Linked DNA regions of Homo sapiens: region 1 is linked to region 2. The links are contacts of gene promoters, found by promoter capture Hi-C in blood cells and fetal thymus (Javierre and others, 2016). All regions are on one chromosome and are shown on one strand. The core of a region is centred on a gene start or on the middle of the fragment in contact, and the rest is flanking DNA. Distances in the headings are between cores, read along the strand shown. Region 1 overlaps ZBTB21 (zinc finger and BTB domain containing 21). Region 2 holds the start of MX2 (MX dynamin like GTPase 2).

Region 1 (5,726 bases), core at 2,719-5,218, 640 kb after region 2:
ACACATAAACACGCACTGCTGCCACCACCGTCTACGCCCCTCCTTTCCACGGCTCATCTCCACCTGACTCATCACGGCAGAACTTCTGCCACTTCAGTCATGGTGGAAAAACCTTGGAGCTCTTAAAAGACCAGTGGGTGAAATTTGGAGAAAAGGTCTATTTACGAGCAACAGAAAAAACTAAGAGGAAAACCCCCCAGGAAAACCAGTTTCTAAAATAGGGCCGGCTTGCTTACCACTTTGATCCTCGCACACAAATAGCTTCCCAAAGCCTTCCTGGATTGTTTCTACTTCATGTCTTCTGAAATTTCAAAATGAGAGAATCTTTATGGTTAACAATTCACAGAAGACCTTACAGTTCCATGGAAAAGCCTTTCGAATCAGTCTATTTGTCTCAAATCCTGGCTCCGCCACCTATTAGGCATGGAACCTTCTAAAGATGACTCAACCTTTCTGACTAGTTTCCTTACCTGTTAAACATGGCTAACACTACCCACCACATAGGATTTTTATGAAGGACAGAAGAGGCAACATGTTTGAAAGCCCCAGTACGTTCAGCACTTCCCATGTGGCACATGCACATCTTCCTTCCTTCTCCACTTCCCCTCACAGATGCTTGCGTGGGCCTGCTACCCACCACACATCACAAGAGGTGCTGGTGATGGGGAGATGAGTAACTGGCCTGCTTCTTGTTCTCCTGTAGCTCACATTTCCATGTTAGGACAGACAATAATTAACAAAGGATGTGAAGAATGCTACGGGAATACTGATTCCAGGAAGCAATTAATTTGGCCAGGGTGTAGGAGGGTGGAAGAGTGAATAGTGGGAACTATTCACTATTAACTATGAGTGAATAGTCCTAAGGAAGGCTTGGGACTCATCACTCCTTTGACAATTATAATACAAGCTGAATATCTCTAGTCCAAAAACCCAAAACTACTTTCTGAGCAACGACATGATGCACAAAGGAAAGGCTCATTAGAGCATTTTGGACTTTTGGATTAGGGACGCTGAACCACTGGGTATAATGAGAATATTTCAAAATCCCAAACAATCTGAAATCTGAAACACTTCTGGTCCCAAGCATTTCAGATAAGGGATAGTCAACCTCTAATACTAAAGGTTCCATTCTTTACATTTCTACTATAGACGCTTTTCAGAAATGCTCATCTGGCCTTGCTGGGGCTTAAAACCTTCCAAGGGCTTGCCCTGGCCTCAACTTCCAATTCCCTGGAATGGCTACAAAACCCTTCAGAACTGGATTCCAGAAGATTATTTCATACCATCACTTCAAATTCCTCAGGTAATAAATGCTAAGGGGGTGGGGGACTCATATCTCACATCTTTTTTTTTTTTTTTTGAAGAGTCTCACTCTGTCACCCAGGCTGGAGTGCAGTGGCATGATCTTGGCTCACTGCAACCTCCGCCTCCTGGGTTCAAGCAATTCTCCTGTCTCAGCCTCCTGAGTAGCTGGGACTACAGGCGCCAGCCACCAGGACTGGCTAATTTTTGTATTTTTAGTAGAAATGGGGTTTCACCATATTGGTCAGGCCGGTCTCGAACTCCTGACCTCAGGCGATCTGCCCACCTCGGTCTCCCAAAGTGCTGGGATTACAGGCCAGCCACCTGTAAGATATGAGCCACCGCGCCCGGCCTCATATCTTAACATAAATTAATTCAATGCAAATACTTTCCTCTTTATAGAGTGTTAAATCAGTTGTATGGAATTAAGATTTTTGAGGGAGAGGGAAGGTAGGCAATTTCGAATATAGAGCATTCTAGTGAGAAGCAGAGGAAAGCAAAGCGACTTGGCACTCAGAAGGGTACCAGGGGGTGAGTGAGGGGGTGAGAAACAGAGATGGAAAGGGATCAAAATAATCTCACCTACTTGGACTAGTGTCATAGCTAAGGTACACTATAAATTAAGTTGGCTCCCAGACTAGCCACAAAACTGCTACTACCAGTTCTACAGGAAAATGGCTCTTTACATCCAGCATCAACCTAGATTTCAACTCTGGGAACATGGGTCCTTTGGAATGTTGGGGATTGCTTCTATAGTCCTAACCATGATACTAGAAAAAAGAGGGAATGCATGTAACACAAGGCAAATACCTAGTTAAAAAAACAAAGCATCTACATTTGACTTTGGAACATAAACACACACACACAGACTGCTTATCCCCAAACCCTCATTTCAGGATTTAGCCGTAACACCTACCATTGGATTTTACTATTTGATGGTGATAGGAAGTTGCCTCTGAGTTTCGGTCTTATCATCACTCACTTGGTGACAACGCAAATATCCTCAGATTTCAAACCTAGACTAGCTTATCCAATCCTTCAAGAGGAGTCATGTTACTATCTTGTATTCCATTTCACCACACTTTCAGTCTCTAACAAGGGGGTTTGATTTTGGTTTGATGGTTGTTCTTGGCCACATTCAGGAGAATGATCCTACTCCAACATAGTTCAAGCTCCTTTGCACCTTAGCAGAGCAGACTCTGGTCACAGCCTTTGCTGTTTTCTTCCAGCCACTACACAGCCATTCCACCTCCTGTTAACAGCCCCATGATTTTGCTATAGAAGAACTGCTCTTGTCCCACTGTGTGCTACAGCCTGATGTGCTCCTCTCCCCTACCTCTGGGCTAACCATACAACCAAAGCCAAACCAATCAGAAACTTTGTCCTCGGAATATGAATCCTGAGAAGAATGACAAAGGCAATAAATAAATGAAGCTGACTTATCTCAACGGAGGCCTGAAAATGCAACCTTGCTAGTGCCTGCTACATAGATTCCTGGAGTTAGCTTGGTTTTTGTCCTTCTTCCTGGCCCAGTTTTTTAGCTTTTCTTTTAAGTCCAAGAGCAACCCTGTATCTTTACAATAAACTACTTTTTCCATTCAAGCCAGACAGTTTCTGTTCTTGTTATTAAAGAACCCTAATATATTTCCACGTGGTATTCACTGTTCCTTGTCATGCCTTCCAAACCCATCCTAATACAGCTTCTAGACTGAGCTTCTTAGAACAAAGCTTTGATCGCTCACCCAACATACACGTTAAATATTCCTATTATTAATTCAACTTATTTACTGAATTCCAATTCTGTACAAGGCATGGTTAGATTTATCTGAAATATAGGGGTGCACCAAACAGACAAGACCCCCACTTTCTAGTGAGATAAATCAGATGCTAAGGAAACAAATAAAAAAGACAACCTCAGATTCTGCTAAAAGTTATGGTGGAAATAAATAAGGTGCTATATCGCTGGATGCAGTGCCTAGAGAGGATGGTCAGAAAATACCTTGATGGAATATTTCAGCTGAGACCTAAGATCTGAATGAAGAGAACCAGCTTTGATCCTGTTTAAAAATAAAATAATAAAAACAATTGTTCTCCATTAGGCTAAAATTTTTAAAACAATGACTAAAGGTCTCTATAAAATCTGGTTTCAAATGACTTTTAAAATTTTCTTAGCCAGGTGTGGTGGCTCATGCCTGTAATCCCAGCACTTTGGGAAGCCAAGGCGGGTGGATCACCTGAGGTCAGGAGTTCGAGACCAGCCTGGCCAACATGGTAATACCCTGTCTCTACTAAAAATACGAAAATTAGCCGGGTGTGGTGACGGGCGCCTGTAATCCCAGCTACTCGAGAGGCTGAGGCAGGAGAATCGCTTGAACCTGGGAGGTGAAGGATGCAGTGAGCTGAGATCGTGCCACTACACTCCAGTCACCACTGGGTGACAGCTGAGCCAGAGCGAAACTCCGTCTCAAAAAAAAAAAAAAAATTTTTTTTTCTTTCCCTTAGTTATTCCCTAGTGATCCCTTTCTGCTCCAGATACTCTGTCTCTAAGACCTAACCTGCACATCTGACTTCTCCCACTCCCCAATCTGGAAAGTCCTAGAACTCACCTAAACCCCTCCTCAGCACACTACTCAGAATATTAATCACCTTTCAAAGCTCAGGTCAAGTTCCAGCTACTCCATAAAATCTTCCATTATGGGTTGAATTGTGTCCCCACTCTTCCCTCCCAAATTTATATGATAAAGACTTAGCCTCCAGTACCTGGAGAATGTAGTCATACTTGGAGACATGGTCTCTAAGAGGTAATTAAGTTAAAATGAGGGCTTTAGGGTGACCCCTAAACTGATGTAACTGGTGTTCTTACAGGAGAGGAAGATTAGCACAGAGACATGAACAGAGGAAGGACCAAGTAGGGACAAGAAGATGCCATCTATAAGCCAAAGAGAAGCCTCAGAAGAAGCCAACCCTGCTGACACCTTGTTCTTGGACTTCTAGCTTTCAGAACTGTGGGAAAAGAAATCTGTTGAGTCATCCAGTCTGCAGTACTTTGTTATAGCAGCCCAAGCAAATGAATATACCTTCCTTGACTACTTCATCTTATAACGTGCAAATACCTCAACTTCAGCACCATTTACATGTTTATTCACTGCCTTTATTGTTAGTCATTTGTGTCTCCCCAAGAGGACTGAAAGCTATTTAAAGACTGATAATCTATTTAATATCTTTTGGCATTATCAATGCTCAACATGTTATCTTCCACAACAATAAAGATTTGACTTTTCTGTACTCTTCACTCCAATTAAATGCACGAGTGAAAATTATGGCTGTTAGTTGTTTTGCTGAAGTAAAGCGTATTACATCACTGCCCTGCTTTGGAGTACTGTACTGATTTTTCTATTCCTAAAGAAAATCCAAACTACAGACTGGCATACAAGACTTTTCATACTCTGGTTACAATTCATCTCTCCACCCTTATTGGACACTACTTACCATCTACTCTACAAACTTGCATATCCAGCCTCTGCCACCCAAAATCTCTCTCTTCCCTCTCCTTTACTTGGCTAACTTCTTTCGAAAGATCCAGTTGAAATGTCACCGACTCTACAAAGCTTTTGTAATTTGCCCCTAGCCAGCAGCTCAGTCATCTAAACTACCACAATACTTCATCTCTCTGTAATAACACCACAACTTCTTCAATTAATCTTCTTTTACATGTGTCTCCCCCAAGGGACTCCCTAAAGAAAGAACCCTTGTTTGCATGCACGTATCCCTGATGCCCAGCACAAGGCCTGGCAAGCTAGGTACAGGGCAAAGAGAGAAATCATCAAACTTGAGGCTCAAGACCTGGACTGGCTCACCTTTATTTCTCCAGCATCCGTTACAGAGCCCCAAAACGTGGCAGTATTCTTTGCTTTTTCTATTAGACCTTGTGACTTTAATCACTACTGGACGATGATTCCCAAATCTGTATCTCTGTTTAGACTCTTGAGGCTCCAGCCTCTCAGGTACCTACTGAACGGTTCCATCACAGTATATCCTCAGGTCCAGCATGGTACTTAAACTCCACAACTCTCGTCCCTGCTCCCACATCTGTTTGTCCTCACATATTCCCGATTTACTTTGGTGTGTTGCCAGACCCTAAAATTTCTTCTCTTTCCCTTATAGCCTATCACTGTGACCTGGTCAAACCTAGCTCTTACATAGCTTATAATCTGCTCTCTCTACTTCCATTGGCTTTGCGGACAACTAAAACTGTCCCTTCGGCTGGGCGCAGTGGCTCATGCCTGTAATCCCAGCACTTTGGGAGACCAAGTGGGGTGGATCACGAGGTCAGGAGATCTCAAGGCCATCCTGGTCAACAGGATGAAACCCCGTCTCTACAAAAAAAAAAAAAAAAAAAAAAAAAATTAGCTGGGCGATGTGGC
Region 2 (5,136 bases), core at 1,736-4,235:
GAGCTGTGAGACCAGAGACCTCTGCTGTTTAAGCTACTCAGGTGTGGTTCTTTGTGATGGCAACCCCACAAAACTAATATAGGCCCTTGTAAGTGCTAAGTTCTTAGGTAGGCATAGACGTTTCTGTGTATCAAAAAAGGAGGGCAGTACATTTTTATTCTGGCTGAAATTGCTATGTTTTTGTAGCTTCGTTGATCTTAGTTCACTGTCATGGAATAGGCCGCAGGGGAGCTTCTGGCCAGGCATCGCCCGGGGATCCGGCTTTGGGCTGTGAAGTTCTTGTGATGACGGCCCCTCCTACCCAGTGATGGCCCCTTGGCCCTCTGCTGCCCCTGCAGCTCACTGCTGCGTCCGCACCCGGGGCACAGGACTGTGAATTGCCATTCATTTCCACTTCCTGTTGATGTTTCCCTACAATGTGGTCTTTAGTGTGGAGATTGTCATTCCATCTCTGAAGGCACTGGGCACTGCCAGCCCCCAGCCCAGTCCCCCACCGGTGGGCACCACGCAAGGGGGCTTGCCACATCAGAGTCACATTTCCTACGCATTGTGGACCCTGCTGGTTACCCCTCACACCCGCCCCGTGACAGGGTCATGATGATTTAACCTAGTGGGGCTGGTGAGGCACAGAGAGGCTAAGGACCAAACAGCCAGTCTGGGTGCAGTGGCTCACAACCAAATTCCCAGCACTTTGGGAAGCCAAGGTGGGCAGATCACTTGAGGTCAGGAGTTCATGACCATCCTGGCCAACATGGTAAAACCCCATCCCTACTAAAAATACAAAACAAATTAGCTGGGCATGGTGGCACATGCCTATAATCCCAGCTACTTGGGAGGCTAAGGTGGGAGGATTGCTTGAACCTGGGAGGCCGAGGTTGCAGTAAGCAGAAATCTCACCACTGTACTCCAGCCTGGGCAACAGAGCGAGACTCCATCTCAAGCAAACAAAAAAGAAACAAAGAGCCAGGTCACACGGACAATGACAGGGTGGAGTTCCACTCCAAGGTGCACCCGCTGCTCCTGTGCTCTGCTGGGAGGGACACACCCCAGGTAAGAACCCTGCTTGTCTACAGCACTTCACCATTGCCTTTGTCCTGTTAATTCAGGAAAGCATTTGCTTGATCTTTCCTTCTGTGATTGGAGAGGCCATGGGAGAGTGGATGCATGCTGGCTCTGGATGGCTCCAGGTGCTGCAGGTGCTTCCAGGTGGCCAGGAACTTCATCAGCACACAGAGGCGCTGGCGCTTTCCATAGAGTCAGCGTGCCAGGGCAGGAGGCGGGCACTGGGGCTTCTGGACTTCGCCTCTTTACCAAGCTGCACACTGTAACGCTCCCTGATGTGGAGCTGAGGGAAGAGCTCCGCCCAGCGGCTGTGACCGAGGCCTGAGCAGCAGCATCTTTTCTGGCCCCGGCCCCTGTGCTTGGATGCTGCGTGGGACATTCATTCACCCTCAGGGCTTTAGTGCTCAGAACGCAAGAACCCTGTCCTTGAAGTTTGCATGCGCAGGCACCTCTGGTCCTTCCCAGGGCTGCTGGTGAGGGGCGTGCAGGAGGGGGATGCTGCCTTGACAGAGGGTGGAGGGTCCCCTGAGCTGGCCCGAGCTGCTCGTGTCCCTCTGTCCGGCTTCTCTGAGGCCTTTCTTTGTGCCTTCCTTGAAGCAGTAGGCCGGCCCAGGCCCTGTTGTGAAAGACATTCCTAGTGAAACCGAATGTCACATCACGCTGCCAAGTCTGAGATTCACATTCCTCCCCTCACTCCTCAGCCTCTGTCCGCCCGGGCTCTTGGGAAGAGAAGTGGTTCAGGGATAGGTGATCCTGACGATGATCTCCTGGTGTTAATATTTCTAATGCCAAGGTTTTGAAAAACATGTTAAGTTTCTAAATATCTTCCGTAAAGTTAAGCCTGCACTCAAGGGAAGTCACTACAATGACTTAGCCAAGAGGAGCTCAGGAGTTTTTTTAAACGTATAGTGTTGATGTCTGGGAGAGGATCACGGGTGGATAGGAGAGCTGAGAGCCTGCTTCCTCCCTCCCAGCCATCACTGCCAGTCCTTGAGAGGCTTGGTCCCCTCCCCGGTGTCTGGAGGGCTCCTCCTGGAGGTTCCCAGACCTCTTGGCTCTGGTGATGGGAATGCCTGGCCCTCCTTGACTTTGGTCACAGAGCAGGAAGCCTTAGGGAGCATGCGGTTGTGCACCTTCACTTTTGCAGGTGAAAAGTAACTGAGGACCAGAAAGATGACATGCAGCTGGCTCAGGGCTGAGTTCCGGAGCCTGGGGTTTGTCCTGGGGCCTCCTTATCTCCAATGGGAAGAAAACCGTCTTGGTTTTGCGGCGGGGACCTCAGGCACGGGTGCTTGGAGAAAGCTGTTGACCCTCCTTCTTTGGGTTTTCCGCACCTAATGAGGGGAGAGGTGACATTTGTCAGGTGCGGCTCAGGCATGAAGCTAAGCAGGACAGCTCAGAGCGTCCAGATCATGTACCTGAGAGCATGTCCTCGGCTGTAACAGGAGTGCATCTGTGAGGCCCGATACACGAACCACACGTGGCTATTCATTCAAATTACATGGAGTTCGAAGTCCAGTTCCTTGGTCGCAGTAGTCACATTTCAGAGCCACACAGGTGGTACTGGATGGCACTGTCAGGGCAGAACCTTCCAGTGACTGAGCCACTCTGAGCTGCCCCCATGCCAGCCTCCCCTGGAATCTGTTAGCAATGCTGATTCTCAGGCCCAGCCCAGACCTGACAGATCAGACTCTCTGGCGGGGGTGGGGGGACAGCCGCCCCGTCTCCACAGCTCTCCCAGGATTCGGATGCAGCTGGAGTTTGGGGACCACTCTGTGAGTCATCTGGAGAGCACGCTGATAACTCAGTTTCATTTCTGTGGCCAGATCAAGTAGTTTCATTTCTCTCCCTGTTTGTTGATGACGGAGCAGGGGAGGGAGTGGTTCATATGCCACATAAAAGTGAAGTGGAGGAAAGGGAAGAGATGATTTCTCCATCCTGAACGTGCAGCGGTAAGAGCGGGGCCGGTGCAGGGAGGGCTGCTTTGTGTCTGATGCACAGCAGATGCGTGTTTAAAAAATATTTCCTGAGTAACGTGACATCTGCTTGGTGAATGTGGCTTGTGCTGGGAGGCAGGAGCCACAAAGATAAGATTCTGGTGTGAGGAGCAGAAAGGGCCCATGTTGCCACCAGCCCACAGTAGCCTTGTGCACAGACAAAGAGGCTCTGGAGGGGAAGTGGCTGGCCCTGGGGACAGGGTGGCCTCCATCCTGATCTGGCCAAAAGTCGGGTGGACGCAAAGGGGTGGTTTTTAGGACAGCTTTGCTCAGCGTCCTACAAAGTCTGGGGGTTGAGTAAGGAGCTTTGTGCCCGAAAAGTCGTCTCGGAGGGTTTCAAGTGTTCCTTCTTTTGTGGTATTTGTGATGCTCTGACGTAACCTTAGTGACGGTGATATGCTGGGAAATTGGCTCTCATGGGGCGGGGCAGGGCAGAGGGTGGTGCCTGATTTCTAGCCTTTGCCGATTCTCTTCCGTTCTCATGGTGTGAATGCTCCCACCGTGGCCAGTTCCCAGCCAGTAGGGGCCAACTCCAGCACTCTGGACCACTGCACCCTGGATCGCCTGCACTCTGGGGGCTGAAGTCCATTTTATAATTGATATAGAGCGGAAAGGAGACATGGTGGTATTGATGACGCAGTTTTTTTTTCTTTTTTTTTTTTTTTTTTTTTTTTTTGAGAGAAGTTCTCGTTCTGTTCCCCAGGCTGGAGTGCAGTGGCGTGATCATGGCTCACTGCAGTCTCAAGCTCCCGGGCTCAAGGGATCCTCCCACCTCAGCCTCCCAAGTAGCTGGGACTACAGGTGTGCACCACCACACCTGGTTAATTTTATTTCTTTTTGTAGAGACAGGGGCTCTCTATGTTGCCCAGGCTGGTCTCAAACTCACTGGCTCAAGAAGTCCTTACGCCTCAACCTCCCAAAGCACTGGGATTACAGGCGTAAGCCACCCCATTCGGCTTTGATGACACCTTTTGAACACTGTTCTTTCTCATTTTGTGTTTAGAATGTTGTCTCTAGCTGTTTAAAAAGATCAGGATTCCAAGCTATCTTTCCTCGCACCCTCTCCTCCGTTTACTCTGCTCTACTTCCCAGCCCCGCGCCAACCCCTGAAGCACTTTTGACTCCCTTCGGATGTACAATTTTTTTTTCTTTTTCTTTTTTGAGACAGGGTCTTCCTGCTCTGTTTCCCAGGCTGGAGTGCAATGGTACCATCATAGCTCACTGCAGCCTTAAACTTCCGGGCTCAAGTGATCCTCCTGCCTCGGCCTCCCAATGCATTGGGATTACAGGTGTGAGTCCCTGCGTCTGGCCAGGATGTATGTGAGCTTTATTTAGGTTTAGCCCCTGCCCTAGAATGCAAGCTCCCCCAGAGATCTTTGTCTGCCTGACTCGATATGTATCTCAAGGACTTAGTGCTCAATATATATCTTTGAGTGGGTGAAAAACAAGCGGTCTTAAAAAGAAAGGAGGTGAGCCCGGGGAGATAAGGTCGCATTCAGTGCCAGTGCTTGGTCAGCCATGACCCTGCACCATGCGAGTGACATTGGGACTGGAGCAAAGGGACACAGCAGAGTGGCCCCTGGTGCCCAGGACCCGGCAGAGCTCTCGGACTGGTTGCAAGCCAGCAATAGTGGCTATGCCCGTGTGGGAGACGCAGCTTGCCTTAGACTTCAGCGGGAACCACCATGTCCGGCACAGCCATTTCCATCCTTCCCAGGGGTGCTTACGTGATCCTGGCAGTCTCAGTCAAACTTCCAAACTCAGCAGGGAATGTGTGTGCTTGTCCTCCAATCTCAACACCCTGGGATGCAGTGTCAGGTGCAGGTCAGAGACAGCAGTGGAGACCCGATTCCCAGCCCTGGGCTGGGGCCCCCACAAGGCCTCCAGCATCTCCCCATGGCCCAGTTTCCTCATCTGCAGGACAGGCTCTCTTGAGAATTTGGGGGGATGATAGACCCAAAAGCATTCTGGAGCCAGAGGCTTCTGCCTTCGTCGGGGGCATCAGGGAGTGTCAGTCATGAATTCACCATGACTTCTGACCACCTCTGCCTGGACTCCCTCACCTCAGTGCTGCCTA

What was found. The method cuts DNA at HindIII sites, captures the fragments that hold promoters and counts their contacts. A CHiCAGO score of 5 or more calls a contact.
Region 1: a fragment that was not itself captured here is called in contact with the fragment with the promoter of MX2 in region 2 in 1 of 17 cell types (neutrophils); the score reaches 5.0 in neutrophils.

What each region holds. Positions count from the first base shown.
Region 1 is chr21:42,002,661-42,008,386 of GRCh38, forward strand. It overlaps ZBTB21 (zinc finger and BTB domain containing 21), which reads right to left. Exons shown (of 3, transcript NM_001098402.2): 2 at 237-301. Among named protein-coding and RNA genes, the nearest start is that of ZNF295-AS1, 3.7 kb to the right of the region's middle. The HindIII fragment of the contact is 1,880 bases long and covers 3,029-4,908 here.
Region 2 is chr21:41,359,042-41,364,177 of GRCh38, forward strand. MX2 (MX dynamin like GTPase 2) reads left to right here and starts at 2,986. Exons shown (of 14, transcript NM_002463.2): 1 at 2,986-3,014. RefSeq lists enhancers at 325-1,128, 2,411-2,670, 2,691-3,530. The HindIII fragment of the contact is 29,601 bases long and covers 1-5,136 here.